Regions from separate parts of the Homo sapiens genome. Here region 2 is linked to region 1. Evidence: promoter capture Hi-C in human tissues and cell types (Jung and others, 2019). All regions are on one chromosome and are shown on one strand. The core of a region is centred on a gene start or on the middle of the fragment in contact, and the rest is flanking DNA. Distances in the headings are between cores, read along the strand shown. Region 1 holds the start of NPY5R (neuropeptide Y receptor Y5). Region 2 has its middle 56 kb from the start of NPY1R.

What was found. The method cuts DNA at HindIII sites, captures the fragments that hold promoters and counts their contacts. A contact is called where the count stands out against the background at its distance.
Region 2: a contact is called between a fragment that was not itself captured here and the fragment with the promoter of NPY5R in region 1, in 2 of the 25 tissues and cell types used here (H1 embryonic stem cells and spleen).

Annotation. Positions count from the first base shown.
Region 1 is chr4:163,341,616-163,345,142 of GRCh38, reverse strand. It overlaps NPY5R (neuropeptide Y receptor Y5), which reads right to left and starts at 1,251. Exons shown (of 4, transcript NM_006174.4): 1 at 1,143-1,251. It also overlaps a transcript of NPY1R not described here. The HindIII fragment of the contact is 9,678 bases long and covers 1-2,106 here.
Region 2 is chr4:163,275,362-163,278,807 of GRCh38, reverse strand. No RefSeq gene overlaps it. Among named protein-coding and RNA genes, the nearest start is that of NPY1R, 56 kb to the left of the region's middle. The HindIII fragment of the contact is 3,613 bases long and covers 1-3,446 here.

The DNA of each region.
Region 1 (3,527 bases), core at 2-2,501:
GAAAATACACATCATTCTTTTCACAAAGGATGACAATCACACAAAAGAATAAAATATATGTAATTCTTTTTCCTCCTGCAATGATACAATATCAACTATTGTCTGTTTTGCTGTGATCGTGGAACAGCAGCATGATTCCATGTTCTCAAATATTCCCATGGTTTGTTCTTAAAGCCAGAATCTGGCACAATTTGAATTGGAAAGATAAATACAGCTCTGCTCAGCTGACAAACACACAGGCATGCACCACCCTCCCTTCCAAATTCTAACAGCAGAGTTTCTCTTCCCTTGAGAAATCTGAAATCTAAAATTGCATTCGGACTGCAAAATTCTGCTGAAAGAGCCTTAGGCTATTTTCCATGGTCTAAGGTAAAATCGTTTTGGCTTTGGTCCAACACAACGCCTCAGTTCCTTTAAAAGATTAACTAAAGGTCTGTGAACTTGGAAAAAAGAATTCCCGTTTCTGGAATTCGAGTTCTATGGATGTTTGTTATTGCTCGCATTTGTTATATGAAGACACCTCGCAAACAGGAGCGCAAACCTTAGAGCGCAGCTGCCTCCCGGGCTCGGGTCAGCGCTGGACCGCGCGGCAGCTGGACGGCCTGAGTGGCGCCCCGCGGGCTGCGCCCCCGGCCTCGCCAGAGACCCGCTAGGGTTGAGCCCTGACCCGGGCACCCCGCGGGCTGCTGTTCCCAGCTCCGGATGCCAGCCGGGCTGCAGCCAGAGCGCGTCCAGCCGGGGGCAGCGCTTTGTCCATCCCCCGCCCCATCCCCAGGAGGCTCCTTCGCGGATCCCCGACACTCTCCTCCCGGGTTCGGCCCGCGCCTGCTCCACCCGGGTGAGTTGGGAACCGGAGGGACCTGCTCGGCACGAAAGAATTCAGCCCAGTACCCTCTCCGCTGTCTCTTCACTCCTGACAAGTGCCTGTTCCGCCACCCTAATCCCCATTTTTCCAGCCGCGCTCCCTTCACCTTCCCCACCCCGCTCTCTTGGGACCCCCGACAACGCCCTGGCACCAGAGACGGGTGCGGGCTCCCAGGGACCTGCGCAGACTCGCAGCCCGCGCGGGGACCCGCCACGGCCCCTCGGTGCAGGCCTACCCGGCGCGAAAGGGGTTGGCAGGGAGGGGCGGGAGCCCGTACCTCGGGGCGCCCCGGCCGCTGCAGGCCCTGGGCTCCCGGGAGCGCGGCCCAGCGCGATCGCTCCTGCACCCCGGCGGTGGCGGCAGCAGCGGGAGCAGGACCTGGAGGCGGCGGTGGGGAAGAGGGGGCGGGGGTTTAACGGCGTCTCGAGAACACGTGACTGTTCCGGGGACCCCCGAGACCCTGCTCCAAGGCGCCTGCTCCGCGCCAGCCTCTTCCAAAGCCGGGGGCCGGGGGCGTCCCAGACCTACGCCGCTGTTTGGGCGCTCTAGGGAGAAGCCACAGGGCCCCGGGATGTCGTCCCTTCACCCTGGCCTCGGGTCCCAGGCCGACCAAGTTAACTTGATGGGCAAATCGAGTTTTGCCGGTCCAGCCCTCAACCCTGTGTAGTGAACTCTGAGAAGTCTTGGACTGGTGTGAGGATGGCTGTGCCCCTAAGTTCTTAGTATTCCTGAGAACAAGCTTCGACTCTCAGGTTTTATCTTTGTTTGGGGTGGGGGACGGTGGGGGGTGGTGTGGTGATAGAAAGAAAGAAAGAAAAAAGACAAAACACTGCTCTTCCTTTGCACCTCTTTGAAGTAAGGAAGAGTGGAGGTGGGGAGGCTGACCCAATGTTCAGGAGAGGCAACAGCGTCTGCGGTAATGAGCCCAGCAGAATAGAAGGGAAGTTTCCCCACTCCAAGGAGTGGCAGCTGTGGGTGTGGGCAAGTGGCAGGAGCAGGGGAGTGAAGCTGAAATGAAATCAACGCTGCTCAAGACTATATTCAATAGCAAAGAGAAGACGAAGGGCTAAAAACGAATTGTCACAGGTTAAAAAAAAAAAAAGACGGGAAAAAAGCCCACACAAAAGAAGAAGAGAAAACCTGTCCTTCTGTTCCTTCCCAACATGATTTCCATCCCTAATGTTTCCAAATCTGTATTGCGCAGGTTTGCTTTATTTTTAGCTAATCATTAGGTGGCAGGTACTTTAGGCGCGCGCGCGTGTGTGTGTGTGTGTGTGTGTGTGTGTGTGTGTGTGTCTGTGAGAGAGAGAGAGAGAGAGAAGGAGAGAAGGGAGAAAAGAGACATTGGGTAGATGTCCATGTGTCTTTGGACATAGCTTTACCATGAGAAAGGGTGTAGTTATTGTACCCTTTAATACTGAGAACTATTATGTAACAGACAGCATCTCCTGCTGAGTAGAGTCGTGTGGGATAAACCGAAGAGAACTGTACCCCTTGGGAGCAATGTGACTTGTAATTCTAACATCTGGGGCAGACATCACTGTTACAGAAGAGGTCAAAGAAAATTTTTTGTGTCCCCTTTCTGCTGGATTTCAGCATTCAATACTCAGGGGATCTGTATAGATTGCTATTTCATCAGTCAAAGAGTCATCCAAGAGCTTTTAAAGAACTCAAGTAAACACAGTTCCTGTTTTATTCTTCTGTGTGTTATTTCTGAAATATTAATATATTCTCCCCAAAAGCTTAACAGAATAGGCCGTCTGAGCAGGCACCTGGGATTCTGCAGTAAGGAGTAGGGGATGAAAGTGTCAAGAAGGGATGACCTTGAGAAAATAAGGCTTGTTTTTTAGACTTTCTTAACTCCACTGTCTCTGCGGTTAATGCAGTACACATTGCCACATAAATTTCTATCTTTCCATCTCTTGCACAGTCATAACATGTACACTTCAAATACACATTGTCTTTAAAACAAATTCCAAGTGAACCCCATTGTGACTTTCAAAACACTAGTCTATGCTACAGGCTTTTGCATATTAAAAGTATTAAAAAATCTTATTTTTTATTTTCCACAAATTTGTTTTCTATTTTGATGATATGAACCTTTAGGTTGAAGTCACTGTTATTAGAGTATTGAAAATAAAAGGCTACCTGCCACTGATACAAAGATTCTAATTAACCTGGCTATTTTCCCTTCCCACTGCACCCACAAACAAGCAAGTCTCAAAAACAGGAGTTGGCATTTCTTCTTTAAATACACGTGACAATACACAGTATTAAGAACACTTGGAGTGGACAAGTTATTAAGAGTTTTTTTGAGGAAATTATAAATTTACAAATTTAAGCAATATGCTACATAAAGAGGAAGATATGAAGATAAGTGTGTTTTTACCTTTAAATTTCCCAGGGGGGATTTGAGACTGATCATCATTACTCTTTGTAGAACATAATAATTTTATTTTTATTTTATGGAGTAACATCTTAGCGAAGGGGAATACCAGAACAGAAGTAGTAATGTCCACCTCTGTTTTATGTATTTTTCCTACTCACTATTTATAAAATGCTCATTTGGGAAATTAAGTTGGATTTTATGCATGTTACAAAATTAAACTGGCTATTGCCCTGTTATTACAGTTCATTATCAGTTATGAAAGAAAGCTTATCT
Region 2 (3,446 bases), core at 550-3,049, 67 kb after region 1:
CTGCTTTTCAGCAATGGAAAGAATGCATAGAATAATTGAAACTATTGCTTTTAAGGAAGTATTATGTTTAAATATGGCTATTGGAGGATTCATTATCAGCCACTGTCCTTTCATTTTTGACTTTTAAAACAGACTTTTTCATCATGATACCATTTACTTAGTTCTCACTCATAAAAGCATGATACAGTGTTTCATACTCAATAGACAGAGTAAGGGAATTTTACATTTTGATAACAGAAGACCATAGTGTGTAAGAGGATCCACATGAAATGCGATAAGATCAATAATAACACATCGCTCTCCTTCCTAGACTTCTCTTTAAATACCCATTCCTTGATGACTCTGACATCTCCACATAGACCTCTCACAAGCTTTGCAAATCTGCCTTCCATGTCTACAGCCACTAGCCTTTCCCTGGACACAAACCCAAATCTGTTTTTCCACTTAGCTTTGCTAGTTTCCATTAGTGGAATCATCAATTGCCAGAAAAAAATGAGAATTAAATTTCTTTCTCCTTTTCCCCAAACATTACCTCTGAAATATTTTAATTCTTTCTTCCCTTTCTACCTTAGTGCCAAGGCCATACTTGGAATGGTTTGTCATTTCTTTCTATCTTTTTTTTTTTTTTTTAGATGGAGTCTTGCTCTGTCGCCTAGGCTAGAGTGCAGTGGCGCAATCACAGCTCACTGCAAGCTCCGCCTCCCGGGTTCACGCCATTCTCCTGACTCAGCCTCCCGAGTAGCTGGGACTACAGGCGCCCGCCACCACGCCTGGCTAATTTTTTGTATTTTTAGTAGAGATGGGGTTTCAGCGGGTTAGCCAGGATGGTCTCCATCTCCTGACCTCATGATCCACCTGCCTTGGCCTCCCAAAGTGCTGGGATTATAGGCATGAGCCACCGCACCCAGCCTGTCATTTCTTGATAGACTTCTGTAATGGTGTCTTCATTATCATTTAAAATCTACCTTCCAAACAGCTGCGAGGTGGATTTCCTCACCTGCAAATCCTAATATACTACTAATATGAGCAGCTTCTCATATGTTCAGGATTAATTTCAACTCCCTGCTTACCCTTTCAAGCTTACCTCCCAAAATGTCCACACATATCCTTCACATCAGTCACACCTAGGTACATTCAGTTTCTCAAGTGGCCAAATGTTCTCACACCCCTGTCACTTTGTTCACAATCTCATGGATCCCACCCCCTACTTAATTGCCTGGCCGACTTCTATTTTTCACCCAGGACAGATCGATCAATACCTACATTTAGAAGTAGTTTCTCATTGAAACCCCACATATCTCAAGTAAAGTAAGTATTTTTTTATATGCTGCTACTTTATTGTGGCTACTTCAACTTATTCGGTTTATATATGATTAAACCTAGTCATACTGTCTCTAGTCATTTTTTTAGTGTATCTTTTCATTGTGAGGTTTTAGAACATAAAGACTATGTGTTAATCATATCTACATACCAAAACCTTGAATTTTGACTGACACATTGTACGTGCTTAATACATGCTTGTTGAATTGAATTGAAATGTTTACCAGAAATATTCTTGGCAGCCTTAAACAACAAGAACAAAAACACAATGATGGAAAATTGAATACAAGAGAAAATAGCTTTCAGAACATTATGGCAGGTTGCACATTAAATACAATCACCTCTGCATTCTTTTTGTACATTGAGGCTAATTTATAATACAAGCAATGTTCAATGATTTCTGATTATGGCACCTCAAGGTTTTCGATCACCAAGACTCAATTATTTGCAATATATTCTTTATCTTCTATTACACACACATATCTTATGCACATTTATATAGATGCCCCCCGATCATATCAACCTGAAAGTAAAAATAGACTCACAATTCTTATTATAAACCCATTTTTCTCTCTTTTCTCAACTGCTCTGCAGAAACTCTAGACTCCTAACAAATTCCTCCTGAATAGTTCTTGTAGACTGCAGACAGTTTCCCAAGTGTGCTAGATAAACTAGTACTCCTGATGACCTGTGGTGCCTGCTAAGCTTCTCTTCTCCTGCTGTAGCTTGCCCTGTCTGTGCTTTCTGTCTCTACTGATGCCTTCTGGTGGCATAGGCATCTTTGTTCTGAGCGAGATGCTATTAATGCTGAGAGTACTGATGCTCAACTTTCCCCACTTCTACGGGACTGCCATTAAAGCCAACCTAGATTAGCAAATAGGAAGGGAAACACATGCTTAGGAAACTAAAAAAAAATGGCATCAGAAAAATTTCTGTAAATAATTTAACATTAATTATTTTTAAAATCGTGATTTTTTATGGCAAAAATCAGAATTTCTATTTAAATTTACTTACATGTATTTAGCAGTTTGGAATTACTATTTTTTAATTTCCATGTGAGAAAATGCCCCTAATATTTTTAGTCATAAATCCTCTAAAGATTAAGGCAGCCTTTCCTGACACTAATGGCCACTGATGCCCAGGCAGCAAATGCAGGTTGCTAGTGTGAAGGGTGCTAATGTCTGTGGTGTTGGCATCATCTCATGTTTGAAATCCAAACACATGCTCCACACTGTGCAGGTCTTCTTTCTTTCTTTCTTCTCCTATTTTTATTGCAACTGCCTTGTTGTGGACTCAGGTGTGTGTTCATGGAGACCGAATTAAAGGACAATCTGAGAACTCTGTTTAGAAACATGCTTCTTTTCAGAACTTGAACTATGCTTCTTGATACTCTTTTTTTCTTGGAATAAACTGCTTATGGCGAGGAACCTTGGCGCTTTATGTAACCACACTAGGGACAGACCCATACACTACTCCAGGTAGGTTTAGGATAAGGGTCACTGAAATTAGGTTTTATGTGGGAACGCTTGATTCACTAATGAATTTGTAAACATTTTTCAGTAACAATTTTTGAAATGAAAATAACCTGTTTCATTTCATTAAACTCCAGGCTGGGTGTGGTGGCTCACACCTGTAATCCCAGCACTTTGGGAGGCTGAGGTGGCTGCCTGCCTTGAGGTCAGGAGGTTGAGACCAGCCTGGCCAACATGGTGAAACCCCATCTCTACTAAAAATAAAAAAATTAGCGGGGCAATGAGGTGCACGCCTGTAATCCCAGCTACTCAGGAGGCTGAGGCAGGAGAATTGCTTGAACCTGGGAAGCAGAGGTGAGCTGAGATCGTCCCACTGCACTCCAGCCTGAGTGACAAAGTGAGACTCTGCCTCAAAAACAACAACAACAACAACTACAACAACAACAACAACAAAACCACCCAAAAAACACCACCAGTTAACAGGACTAAACTTTACCCAGGTAATCTGGCTAACTGAAGTATTACTATATCATTTTGATCCTAGAATTTAAAATAAACCTAAGAAGACTTTAGAAAGAAAGAATCAAAAAAATCCTTAAATACTTTCGAAAAATAAACCTAAGCCTGCCACATGTTGCCAATGTCTGGTTTGTT